Linked DNA regions of Homo sapiens: region 2 is linked to region 1. The links are contacts of gene promoters, found by promoter capture Hi-C in blood cells and fetal thymus (Javierre and others, 2016). All regions are on one chromosome and are shown on one strand. Each heading gives the region's core, a stretch centred on a gene start or on the middle of the fragment in contact. The rest is flanking DNA. Distances are from core to core; before and after follow the strand shown.

What was found. Contacts are between HindIII fragments. The CHiCAGO score rates a contact against its expected background, and 5 or more counts as called.
Region 2: a fragment that was not itself captured here is called in contact with the fragment with the promoter of POP5 in region 1 in 6 of 17 cell types (M0 macrophages, M2 macrophages, total B cells and 3 more); the score reaches 7.8 in M0 macrophages.

Annotation. Positions count from the first base shown.
Region 1 is chr12:120,577,760-120,584,374 of GRCh38, reverse strand. It overlaps POP5 (POP5 ribonuclease P/MRP subunit), which reads left to right and starts at 2,973. Exons shown (of 5, transcript NM_015918.4): 1 at 2,973-3,032; 2 at 3,118-3,260; 3 at 4,452-4,601; 4 at 4,778-4,861; 5 at 4,963-5,611. The coding sequence starts at 3,013. The coding sequence ends at 5,057. The HindIII fragment of the contact is 2,825 bases long and covers 2,947-5,771 here.
Region 2 is chr12:120,957,354-120,964,440 of GRCh38, reverse strand. No RefSeq gene overlaps it. Among named protein-coding and RNA genes, the nearest start is that of HNF1A-AS1, 11 kb to the left of the region's middle. The HindIII fragment of the contact is 7,737 bases long and covers 1,561-7,087 here.

The DNA.
Region 1 (6,615 bases), core at 1,724-4,223:
AAGTCAGGAGTTTGAGACCAGCCTGTCCAACATGGTGAAATCTCTACTAAAAATACAAAATTAGCCGGGCGTCGTGGCAGGCGCCTTAATCCCAGCTACTCTGGAGGCTGAGGCAGGAGAATTGCTTGAACCCGGGAGGCAGAGGCTGCAGTGAGCCGACATGGCGTCACTGCACTCCAGCCTGGGCGACAGAGCAAAAAACTGTCTCAAAAAATTCCTGTTGTTTGGCTATATTTTCTTTTTTCTTTTCTTGTTTTTAAGACAGTCTTAAAAATCAGTCTCAAAAAACAAACAAAACAAAAAAAACAAAAACAAAAAAAGGGCTTACTATGCACTCGCTGTGCCAGGCATTTTGTCCACATGACCCCGCTTAAACTTCATATCCACCCACGAGGGAGGAACCATTGTTATCCCATTGCACAGATGAGGAAACTAAGATCTGAGACATGAATTAACCCTCCTGACAGCACCTGGCCGGGCCAGTAAATGACGGAGTAGCGAATCGAACCTCCATCTGTCGTCTCTCCATCTTATTACACTAAATGGACGAGTGAAATCCTGCACGGGAGAGCACCAACCGTGTTGACCAGAACAAGGAGTCAGCTGGCTTTGGGTTCGAATTCTGATCCTGCTCCTAACTGGATACGAGGCTTTGGTCTGAGCCCCAACTGCATCTATAAAATGGGCGAAGCATTGCTGTTGAAATGAAGGCTGGGAGGAGTGAAATTTCTATGAGGGGTGGAGCGCTCAGGAGTTGGGGGTGTCTTGCTCTCTCCGCGCACTGCGGACCTCTGGCGCCCCCTGTTGGCCAAAGGAGGATGTCGCAGACACTTTCTGGTGAAAAGTTGTTCTTGGGTGGGGAGTGCCGTCACTGTCACTGGTCCCTTGGCAGGGCCACGGCGTTCCCTCTTCCTATTCTTTTCTTCCCTACCTTCCCCCACATCCCTCCTTTAAGGTGGCCAAGAAGAGTGGGAGATGGGAAAATTCAGAACTCATTCCAGATCTTGCAAAAATAGGTTGTGAAAGCTGCCCCCATTACGGACCTCACAGGACCAGCCAAGGCCAAGACACTTCTACAAATAATCAGGGATGGGCATAAAGACTAAGCTACAAAGCCATGCATCAAAGTATTGGGTATAACAAGAAAATCTAGAAATAATGTAAACGTCTACCAAAGGGATACTGACCAACTTCACAATGGTACGTCCAAACAATGCAATACTGCACAGCTAAAAAACAGTATTGTCGCTGAAGAGCTGACATGAAAATATAGCCAAATGGCCAGGCGTGGTAGCTCACGCCTGTAATCCCAGCACTTTGGGAGGCCGAGGTGGGTGGATCACCTGAGGTCAGGAGTTCAAGACCAGCCTGGCCAACATGGGGAAACCCTGTCCCTACTAAAAATACAAAAATTAGCCAGTTGTGGTGGCACACACCTGTAGTCCCAGCTACTTGGGAGGCTGAGGCAGGAGAATCGCCTGAATCCAGGAGGCAGAGGTTGCAGTGAGCTGAGATCGTGCTCCAGCTTGGGCAACAGAGTGAGACTCCGTCTCAAAAAACTAAATAAATAAATACAAAAATTAGCTGGTCGTGGTGGCAGGTGCCTGTAATCCCAGCTACTCGGGAGGCTGAGGCAGGAGAATCGCTTGAACTCAGGAGGCAGAGGTTGCAGCCAGCCTCCTGGCTGCATTTATATAAAGTTTAAGAACAGGCAAAATTAATCTAGCAGGGTAGAAGTGGTAATAGTGGCTGATAGCAGTAAGCAATTTGACTGGAAGAGGGCTCAGGGAACCTTCTGGGATACTGGAAATGCTCTTTATTTTAATCTTGGAGGTGGTTATAGAAGTCTATCCATATGTAAAAATTCATTGAGATGAATACACTTAAGAATATGTACTTTATGTAATACCCCATAAGACATTTTTTTTAAAATACTTAAAAATAAAAGAAAAAACATAATTTAACAGAGGGCATAGTTCTCAAGCTGTTTTCTCTGTCTCAGGACCCCTTTACACACGTTACTGAGGGTGCCCAAGAGCTTTTAGTTTTGTGGGTTATATTTACTATGGACATTAAAGTTGAGAAACGTTTAAAAAACAATACACAATTCCTAGAGCAGTGACGTCATCACGTCAAGCAGCCTCTGGAAAACTTGACTGTTCACTCAGAGAGAATGAAAAAGACAAGTAACATCTTAGCATTATTATGAAAGTAATTTTGACTTCGGGGACTCCCAAATCGAGTGAATTTAGGAAATCTCAGTGGTCCCCAGACGGCACTTTGAGAACCACTGGCGCAGGGAGAAAATGACAGAAGAAAACACACTACACGACAACAGTTATTCTCTCTCAGTGCTGGGATTATAATTTATTTGCTTCTTTGTGCTTTTCTGTCAAAAAAAAAAGGTAAACGGAAATGGAAAATACAATGACCACGTATTGTTTCTGCGAGCAAAAAACGAGACGGCACACTCGCCTCCCTAAGATTGCTGAAAGGCCCAAACAGCAATAGCATATTTAGCTGTATGGAAGAATTAAACTGAGCTCAAACCTGAAAATAAAAGTCCGATTTCCCGTTTGTCAATGCCTGGGCTGTGAGGTGCAGGGTCTTGCCCTCAAAAGCTCCACCGTTCACCTTGGGGAGAGAATATACTCGCATACATAACTGTGGTGCAAGGTTCCCAGGGCCCCAAGGGTAGCGGCTACATCCTACACACTATTGTAAACTTCAGTGTGCAACAGAACCATCCATTACAGCTGCAAGGCGCTCCATCCCGGGGTTCAGCCCTCAAACTAGTCAGTGACCCTCCGCAGGACGCATGCGCGCTTACAAACGCAGTTGGGCGGGGCTTGAGAGAGCTGACAGACTTCGGCCTCTCAACTTTCTAGCTCCGCCCTAATATCCTGTCTCCTTCTCTGAATGGCTGAAAGGCTGCGGAAGCAAGCTTCCCATTGGCAGCGGACAGAATTCACATCCGGTTTGCACGCCGGACCGGAGAGCGCGGAGGCAGCCATGGTGCGGTTCAAGCACAGGTAAGCATTCCCTTCCAGACCCTCCCAGTGCCTTGCTGGGTCCTCGCGGCCCCGCTAGTGTCCACCTTCCTCTCGCCTGCCGCAGGTACCTGCTCTGCGAACTGGTGTCTGACGACCCCCGCTGCCGCCTAAGCCTCGATGACCGAGTTCTGAGCAGCCTCGTACGGGACACGATCGCCAGGGTGCACGGAACTTTCGGCGCAGCCGCCTGCTCCATCGGCTTCGCGGGTGCAAGGGCGCTGGGGGAAGAGGGGAACCCGGGAGGATGGCGGGATGTGGAGGGGGCAGGCGCCGGAGGAAGAAAGAAGGGGCACGAGTGGCCAAGCCCGTGCACCGTTTTTTGTAAGGTATCTCTTTAAGCGCCTGGGACCCCAAGCGAGAGTCCGAAATTAGCAGAGCGCTAAAAGGAGGGGCCCGAAGGCAGTGGGGCTTTGAGCTAGAAGCCTCTTTTTACCTGCTTGACAGGTAATTTCTGTAATTGGTTGTGATTGAATTTGATAGGGTAGAGAATTAAATGAGGGAAGCTGTGTATACTTCCTAGTAAGAGCTATTATATGACCGATTACATTAACATCATATGGAAAAAAATTGTCAAAAGTACTCCGGGAAAGCCCTTAAATAGTTGGTAAAGTACAGAACACATGATTGTCAATATATGTAAATACAGGATGAGCTAGGACAGAGGGGCCCTTCTTTCACACCACTTAAATTAGTTCCCACTTTAACCTTGTTTGAGATTGACTTCTGGAGAGTTAAATGCAGATAGACTTAACTCTCCTAAGTCAGGTGAGACTGAGAGCTGACTGCTACAATAATTACGGAGCCCAAATGCAGTAAAACAGCCTGTTTTTCAGGCAAGGGTTTTGTGGGGGTTTTTCCTAAATTAAAACGGATCGCCTCCTACCTGCTCCTATTTATTGAATTAACTAGTGAATTAGAAAGCATTTTCAATTCTAAATTCATTCACCAGTTCTGAGTGGTGTGCAACACAGTGGGTGTTTTGGCTTTTCTCTTTTACTCGCTGATAGATCTACGTGCCACTTGCCTACAACATACTTTTGGCACATAGTAGGCTCTGTTACTCCAAAGTTTTCCTTTTTTCGAGACAGTCTGGCTGTTGCCCAGGCTGCTGGAGTGCAGCAGCGAGATCGGGGGTCATTGCTGCCTCTGCCTCCTGGGTTCAGGCGATTCTCATGCCTCAGCCTCCTGAGTGGCTGGAATTACAGGTGCGCACCACCACACCCAGCTAATTTTTGTATTTTTAGTAGAGACGGGGTTTCATCATGTTGGCCAGGCTGGCCTCGAACTCCTGACTTAAAGTGATCTGCCCGCCTCAGCCTCCCAAAGTGCTGGGATTACAGGCGTGAGCCACCACACAGAGCAAAAGTTTTCCAAAATGATTTTTCTTTCCTGTTGTAGTTCGATATCTCAATGCCTATACTGGAATAGTGCTACTTCGATGCAGAAAAGAATTCTATCAGCTTGTGTGGTCAGCTCTTCCCTTCATCACATACTTGGAGAACAAAGGACACCGTTACCCATGCTTTTTCAACACATTACATGTGGGAGGTAGGAGTGAGGTGGTATGGCTACTGATTTTCAATTGGTGACACGTTCACAGTTCAGTCTAAACTGGTGGGTGGGTCTTGCTGCTGTCCCGCTAACAAGACACTTCCCCCTACCTCTGAAAGTCTGTAAGGTCGAGATCTTTCACAAGCTGTTGACCACAGTAACTCATATGCCAGGTACAATAAGAACATGTCAGAAGTTCCTAATTCAGTACAACAGGAGACAGCTGTTGATCTTGTTGCAGAACTGCACTGATGAAGGTAAGCAACACTAGCCCAGTGCCCACTGAGCAGTGACTGACCTTAAGCTGAAGAAATCACTCCCAAAGATATCTTTCATCCCTGTTATCTGCCTTCTCCAGGAGAGCGGGAAGCTATCCAGAAGTCTGTGACAAGAAGCTGCTTATTAGAGGAGGAGGAGGAGTCAGGTGAGGAGGCTGCAGAAGCAATGGAGTGAACCTCTGCTCCCCACACAGCTGGCTACACTGCTCAGGCTTCAGGCCCACTTGTTGAACAGAACAATCTGGGTAGCAACAGCATCTTCCACAGTTTTCCAAACTGGATAGCTGCCAACCAGCAGACATTACCCACTTGAAATGGAGTACTCAGTTAAACTGAAGTTGCCTTTACCTAGCATTCCCTGGTGAAGTGTTGCAGGTTGTGAACTCTGTAGACATCTTTATTGCTTGGCTAAGAGTAGATTTAATAAATGTATCTGGTTTCCGTGGCATTTAGCATACTTATATTACAGAAAGGGCTTATGGAGTCCATGCTTGGCCAAGTCTCTGTTCTCTCTCTATCCCTAGCCTTGGTGGGAAGACTGACTCCCTATGTGGTACTAGTTAAACTTTTTTTTTTGAGACAGTCTCAGTCTATCACCCAGGCTGGAGTGTAGTGGCCCAGTATCGGCTCACTGCAACCTCCGCCTCCTGGGTTCAAGCAATTCTCCCACCTCAGCCTTCCAAGTAACTGGGATTACAGACGTGCACCACCACGTCTGGCTAATTTTTGTATTTTTAGTAGAGACGGGGTTTTGCCATGTTGGCCAGGCTGCTGTTGAACTCCTGGCCTCAAGTGATCGGCCTACCTTGGCCTCCAAAAGTGCTGGGATTAAAGGGTGAGCCACTGTGCCTGGCCTAAATTTTCAATACTTAGCCTTCTACCTGAAGCTTTGTACCCCCGGCCCCATGATGGGCCCTAAGCAAGCCAAGTCATTTGGAATAGAAATATTAGTTGAGACACAGCAACTGAACTGGCAGAGATCTACAGCCCATCTCAGTACTGAACCACAGGGTCTTACAGATACCAGATTCCTTGCCAATAGTTAATCAGGTAACTTAAAAAATACAACTTTGGGCCGGGCGCAGTGGCTCACACCTGTAATCCCAGCACTTTGGGAGGCTGAGGCGGCCAGATCACAAGGTCAGGAGATCAAGACCATCCCGTCTAACGCAGTGAAACCCTGTCTCCACTAAAAATACAAAAAATTAGCTGGGCATGGTGGTGGGTGCCTGTAATCTCAGGTACTCAGGAGGCTGAGGCAGGAGAATGGCGTGAACCCGGGAGGCAGAGCTTGCAGTGAGCTGAGATCCCACTACTGTACTGCAGCCTGGGCTAGAGCGAGACTCTGTCTCAAACAAAAAATGCAACCTTTGCAGTTGGGGGGGGCGCGGGTGCTGGCCTCATCTGACATCATTACTGCATGGTCATGTAGCAGCTGTCCACTTAAGGAACTTAAGGTAGTTTTTGTAGTTCCGCTCTTATTGCGCCTGAATACAAGGCGCCCTGAAGACAAGTCAGACTGCCATACTCACAGGAAGTAGGAATGGCGGGAGACTTGTGATCCAGGTTTGATCTGCTACCTACTGACATTTCTGGGATCTGTTTTCTCCATAATACAATGGATGAGACTGAAAGTACCATACACATTTAACAGAAACACTGGTGATTCTGGCTTCAACATGCCCCCTCATCTGGAGGCCAGAACACCCTCATCCATCCAGGAAATTTCCTGA
Region 2 (7,087 bases), core at 4,180-6,679, 380 kb before region 1:
CCCTGTCTCAAAATAAGTACATAGGCTGGGCGAGGTGGCTCATGCCTGTAATCCTAGCACTTTGGGAGGTCGAGGCGGGCAGATCATTTGGGGTAAGGAGTTCGAGACCAGTTTGGCCAACACGGTGAAACCCCGTCTCTACTAAAAATACAAAAAAAATTAGCTGGGTGTGGTGGCACATGCCTGTAATCCCAGCTACTTGGGGAGGCTGAGGCAGAAGAATTACTTGAACCTGGGAGACAGAGATCGCGTCACTGCACTCCAGCCTGGTTGACAGTGCGAGACTCTCAAAAAAAATTGGCCAGGCATAGTGGCTCACGCCTGTAATCCTAGCACTTTGGGAGGCCGAGGTGGGTGGATCACCTGAGGTCAGGAGTTCGAGACCAGCCTGGCCAACGTGGCGAAACCCCGTCTCTACTAAAAAATACAAAAATTAGCTGGGCATGGTGGCACATGCCTGTAATCCCAGCTACTTGCGAGGCTGAGGCTGGAGAATCACTTGAACCTGGGAGGCAGAGGTTGCAGTGAGCTGAGATCGCGCCACTGCACTACAGCCTGGGTGACAGAGTGAGACTCTGTCTCAAAAAAAAAAAAAATCAATTAATTTAGCTTAATTCAGCTGCTTCACCTTGGCCTACAAGGGGCTGGGCCACCCTGTCCAATCCATGATCACCTTTTTCCACTGTCCACCTGCAGTGCACAGCAAGTCGCCTACAGCTCCTCCCATACCCACAGCCCCTTCCTGCCTGGGACCTTCGCCCATGCTGTTCCTCCTGCCTGAACCCCTCTCCTAGCTCTTCCTCCCATCAGCACCTCATTGTCATCCCTTCCCTATCCTGTGGTCTGAATGTTTGTGTCCTCCCAAAGTTCATATGTGGAATCCTAGCCCCCCAGGTGGTGGTATTAAGAGGTGGGGACTTTGGGGGCAGGATTAGTTCCCTTATCAAAGAGGCCCAAGGGAGCTTGTTTGTCCCTTGCACCAGGTGAGGGCCCCGCAAGAAGGTGCCCTTGCTGGAGATCCCAGACTCTATGAGAAATATTGTTTATAAGTAACCCAGTTTATGTTTTTTTGGTTTTTTGGTTTTTTTTTTTCAAGGTGGAGTCTCGCTCTGTGGCCCAGGCAATCTCGGCTCACTACAACCTCCGCCTCCCAGGTTCAGGCGATTCTCCTTCCTCAGCCTTCTGAGTAGCTGGAATTACAGGCACCCGCCACCATACCCATCTAATTTTTGTATTTTTAGTAGAGACGAGGTTTCACCATGTTGGCCAGGCTGGTCTCGAACTCCTGGCCTCAAGCAATCCTCCCGCCTCGGCCTCCCAAAGTGTTGGGATTACAAGCATGAGTCACCATGCCTGGCCTATGGTATTTTTTTATAGCAGCAGGAACAGACTAAGACATCCTACTTCTCAGCTTAAACGTCACCTCTGCACAGAGCCCTTCGTGATACATCTGAACAGATTCTTTTCTGTGACTCTCCATCCCTGCACTGTATTTGCTCTTTCAGGGTGCTTTTTCACATTTGTGAGGGTGTATGCATCTCCTCTTCCAGGCTGTAAGCTTCATAAAGTCTCTGTTTTGTTCATAACTAGAACAAGCCCTAGCACCTAGCAGTGAGTGTTCATTAAACATATGAAGAATGAATCAGCGAGTGATTTCATGTCTCATCATCTCTAAAAAGCCTGTTTGATCACTTCCAGGACCAGGAAACTCCTGACATTATCAAGGATGCCACTGCAAAGTGAAATGTCATAAACATGTAGGAGTTGATTCTTTCCAGAAGCTGGCAGTCCAGGACTAGTGTGGGGGCTCCACAGTGTCACCAGAGCTTTGACCTTCCTGCCCTACCATCTTCAGTGGGTGGCTTCTGTACTCAGGGTTACCTCATGGTCCAAGATGGCTGCTGGACTCTAGCCATTATATCCAAATACCAGGTAGAATAGAGGACAAAAGCAGTGAACCTCAAGGCTGAGGCTCCTGGAAGCCTCATACACTTTTACCTACTACAGTCCATGGAACATAGTGTAGTCACGGGGCCACACCAAAATGCAAGAGAGACTGGGAAATGTCTTCATTCCAGGCAGCACGATCTGAATCTGTTATTAAGGAAAAAAATAGGAAGAATGGATATTGGGTATGTAACTAGCTACAAATGATCATGGCATCTCCGTTTATTGAGCACTTATTATGTGCTAGACACAGTCCTAAGTACTTAATAAATGTGGCCCGGTCAAACAAGATTGCCCTCTGCCCCCAAGATTGCCCTCTGCCCCTTCTGTAGCCAGGGACACACACACACACGCACGCACGCATGTACAGGAGCCAGTTGGGCCTGGCCCCCTTCACTGCGGGTACTGACATGCGAAGTCTTTGTCATATGACTCTGAGCAGGGAGGGAGCAGTGTCCTCTTAGCATAATAAGATCAGGATTCATAACATTAAATCAAAGTGCTGTAACTCACAGGAATATCAGTTTCCTATTCAGAAGATAGAGGAGAATGTTTTCAGAAGGAAATTGAACTTTATGGTTTGAAACACGTTTAATTTTAAATATGTTGAGAGAAAACCAGCTACAGCCTGGCATGGAAACTCCTGTTGTTCCAGCCAATGCCTTGGAGAACCAGAGACCACGCCCCCTTCCTCCCTGCTGAGGAGTCAACGAACGAGACCAAAGTCCCCTGTTCTTCTCTGCAGTCAGCAGAAATCAGAGAAGAACATCTTTAGACAGTCAGCAGACTCAGGAACTGTGTACTCTAGGACTTTTTAAAAATTTTTTTACTTTTATTTTTTTGAGACGGAGTCTCGCTCTGTCGCCCTGGCTGGAGTGCAGTGGCGTGATCTCAGCTCACTGCAACGTCCACCTCCCAGGTTCAAGCTATTCTCCTGCCTCAGCCTCCCGAGTAGTTAGGATTACAGGCGCCTGCCACCACACCCGGCTAATTTTTGTATTTTTAATAAAGACAAGGTTTTGCCATGTTGGCTAAGCTGTTCTCCAACTCCTGACCTCAGGTGATCCACCTGTCCCAGCCTCCCAAAGTGCTGGGATTACAGGCATGAGCCACCGCACCCAGCCTGGGACTTTTTTATTTTTACAGAGATGGGTGATGATTCATGGGACGTTGGAGATGCCCCAAGACTGGAGATATGATTTGGGGGATCCTGAGGATTGGTGACCTAGGCAAAACTTGGGGAGGCTGGATCCTGGGTATGGAGTAGCCAATCTGAATAAAGACCCCTGCGCCAAAGGTTGGCACAGAAATAGTGGTCTTGCCAGCCTTCAGGGGAGGCCCACACCAGTCCTAGACTGCCTGCTTCTGGAAGGAATCAACTCTTACATGTTTATGCCATTTCACTTTGGGTTTTCTGTTCTATACAGCTAAACCTAATACTGGACTGATACATTATTATTATTTTCAGAACCAACCAAAGCTGGAATAACACTCTTGATAATGCCAGTTTCCTGGTCCTAGAAGTGAGCTAACAGGCTTTTCAGAGATGACGAGATGTGAAATCCCTCACTGATTCATGCTTCATGTGTTTAATGAGCACCCACTAGGTGCTAAGCCTTGTTCTAGTCAGGAATAAAACCGATACTTCACGAGGTTTACAGCCTGGTGGAGGAGACGTGTATCAGGCTAGTGCGTGTAGACCAAAGGCCAGAGGCGCCCACTCAAGCATTTCCACCTACATGAGAATCCCATAGTCTTTTTAGAAGAATAGAAATAGTAAGCCCTGAGTCACGACTGCATTTGAATGCCACCTTACCTGAAGTCTGAATCAGGGATAATTTGATTTCAGAAGAATAAAATGAGGCTCCTAACACCTGTCCCAAATTGCAAGGAAATGAGGGTATTCTCTTTTTTTTTTTTTTTTCTGAGATGGAGTCTCGCTCTATCGCCCAGGCTGGAGTGCAGTGGCGCGATCTCGGCTCACTGCAAGCTCCACCTCCCGGGTTCACGCCATTCTCCTGCCTCAGCCTCCTGAGTAGCTGGGACTACAGGCGCCCGCCACCACGCCCAGCTAATTTTTTGCATTTTTAGTAGAGACGGGGTTTCACCGTGTTAGCCAGGATGGTCTCGATCTCCTGACCTCGTGATCCGCCCGCCTCGGCCTCCCAAAGTGCTGGGATTACAGGCGTGAGCCACCGCGCCCAGTTGAAATGAGGGTATTCTCTAAGAGGCAGATGACAGAACCTACTGCAATGAATTTGTCAAGCTCAAGGCTAAGGACACAGTCCCTCCACAAGGCAGCCTTCACTTCAAATGCCAGGTGCAACTGGGGATTCCTGGGCCACCCTCACTTCTGACCGCTTGGCTGCATTGAGGGTTCCCACTACCCCCTGTGGTTCAATAATTCACTAGAATGACTCATGGAACTCAGGAAAGTGCCCCGCCTCATAACGACAGTTTTTATGATAGCAAACAGACACAGATCAGAACCAGCCACAAGAAAGGACATAGAGGGTGAGGTGCGGAAGGGGTTCAAGTGCAAAGCTCCTAGTTACCTTCTCTCCAGACAGTCACCTCCCCCCAGCTATGATGCGTGATGACACTCAGAGAATACTGCTAACCAGAGAAGCTCCTGAGGCTTTGGTGTCCAGCGTTTTTGGGGGTTTTGTTTTTGTTGTTGTTGTTTCTGAGATGGAGTCTCGCTCTCGTCGCCCAGGCTGGAGTGCTGTTGCGTGATCTCAGTTCACTGCAACCTCCACCTCCTGGGTTCAAGCGATTCTCCCGCCTCAGCCTCCAGAGTACGAGTAGCTGGGATTACAGGCATGCACCATGCCCAGCTGATTTTGTATTTTTAGTAGAGACAGGGTTTCACCATGTTGGCCAGGCTGATCTCAAACTCCTGACATCTGGTGACCCGCCCCCCTCAGCCTCCTGAAGTGCTGGGATTACAGGCATGAGCCACTGCCAGCCAGTGTCCAGCGTTTTTTAGTGGGGCTTGATCCCTTACTGCCAGTGTGGCTGACCTTTCATCTCCAGTCTCTCCTGAGCTAACTCTTGTGTATCCAGCTCATCTGGAGGTTGGAACTGATACAGGATGTTCCAAAGCCTTCATTACAGATCACATTGTTAGACTATCTGGTGGCCAAAGGCCCCAGGCAAACACAGACACTTCCATCAGACAGGACGTTAAGGGGCCTAGAGATCACCTCCCAGCAACTGAAGGCAAAGATAATCCTCCTACTGTACATCCTTTTTTTTTCTTTTTTTTTTTTTAAGAGACAGGGTTTCATTCTGTCGCCCAGGCTGGAGTACAGTGACACACTCATGGCTTGCTGCAGCCTCGACCTCCTGGGCTCAAGCAATCCTCCTGTAGCTGGGACTACAGGTGTGCACCACCACACCCCGCCAACTATACATCCACCACCACCCTGTCCTCTCAGCCCCCAAAGTCATGAGGCTTTGACTAGGTATCAGGATGTCTTCAAATGAAAATTAATGAAAACAGCGGGCCCGGTGGCTCACACCTGTAAGCCCAGCACTTTGGGAGGCCGAGACAGGTGGATCACCTGAGATCGGGAGTTCAAGAACAGCCTGATCAACATGGAGAAACCCTGTCTCTGCTAAAAATACAAAAAAAGTAGCTGGGCATGATGGCACATGCCTGTAATCCCAGCTACTTGGGAGGCTGAGGCAGGAGAATTGCTTGAACCCGGGAGGTGGAGGTTGTGGTGAGCCGAGATCATGCCATTGTACTCCAGCCTGGGCAACAAGAGTGAAACTTCGTCAAAAAAAAAAAAAAGAAAAAAAGAAAAGAAAATTAATAAAAACAAAAATCCAAAGTTGGACACACACACAGAGAACACCTTAGGACAATAGAGGTACACCGTGGAGTGCTGCAGCAGCAAGCCAAAGATTGCCAAGGATTACCAGAGACGTGAGACGTTGGAAAGGGCAAGAGTGGAATCTCCCCTCTCCCCCAAGTTTGAGAGGGGGCCAAGCCTTACCGACACCTTAATTTGAGGCCTCTAGTCTCTAGAAATGCAATGTGCAAGGCGGGGCGCGGTGGCTCACGCCTGTAATCCCAGCACTTTGGGAGGCTGAGGCGGGCCTTAAGGTCAGGAGTTCAAGACCAGCCTGGCCAACATGGTGAAACCCTGCCTCAAAATGCAAAAAGTAGCCAGGCGTGGTGGCATGTGCCTGTAATCCTAGCTACTCAGGAGGCTGAGGCAGGAGAATCACTTGAACCCAGGAGGCAGAGGTTGCAGTGAGCCGAGATCACACCAGTGCACTCCAGCCTGGGCAACAGCGTGAGACTCCATCTCAAAAAAAAAAAAAAGGGCCGGGTGCAGTGCTCACGCCTGTAATCCCAGCACGTTGGGAGGCTGAGGTGGGAGGATCACCTGAGGCCAGGAGTTCAAGACCAGCCTGGCCAATATGGTGAAACTCTGTCTCTACTAAAAATTCCAAAAAAATTTAGCAGGGTGTGGTGGCGCATGCCTGTAATCCCAGCTACTCGGGAGACTGAGACAGGAGAATTGCTTGAACCCGGGAGGTGGAGGTTGCAATGAGCTGAGATGGCGCCACTGCACTCCAGCCTGGGAGACAGAGTGAGACTCCGTCTCAAAACAAAACAAAACAAAAATGCGACGTGCAGTGATGTGCTCCAGCTGGTGTGATCCCCTTGGGGATGTGGCAATGGATGGGCATCCCCAGACTTGATGATCATCCCTTTGTCTCTTACCAGCAATCCCCAAACCAATTCACAAGTTCTGTTTTGTTTTGGTTTGGTTTTTTGTTTGTTTTTTGAGACAGAGTCTCACTCTGTCGCCCGGGCAGGAGTGCAGTGACATGATCATATCTCACTGCAGCCTCAAACTCCCAGGCTCAAGTGATCCTCCCACCTCAGCCTCCCTAGTAGCTGGGACTACAGGTGTGCACCACCATGCCTGGCTAACTTTTTTCATTTTTTGTAGAGATGGGGGTCTCCCTATGTTGCCCAGGCTGGTTTCGAACTCCTGGGCTCAAGTGATCCTCCCATCTCAGCCTCCCAAAGTGCTGGCATTACAGGCGTGAGCCACCGTGCCCGGCCACAAGATATTTTTTAAGCATGGAGGTTTCTGTGCATTGGATTCCCCTCTTT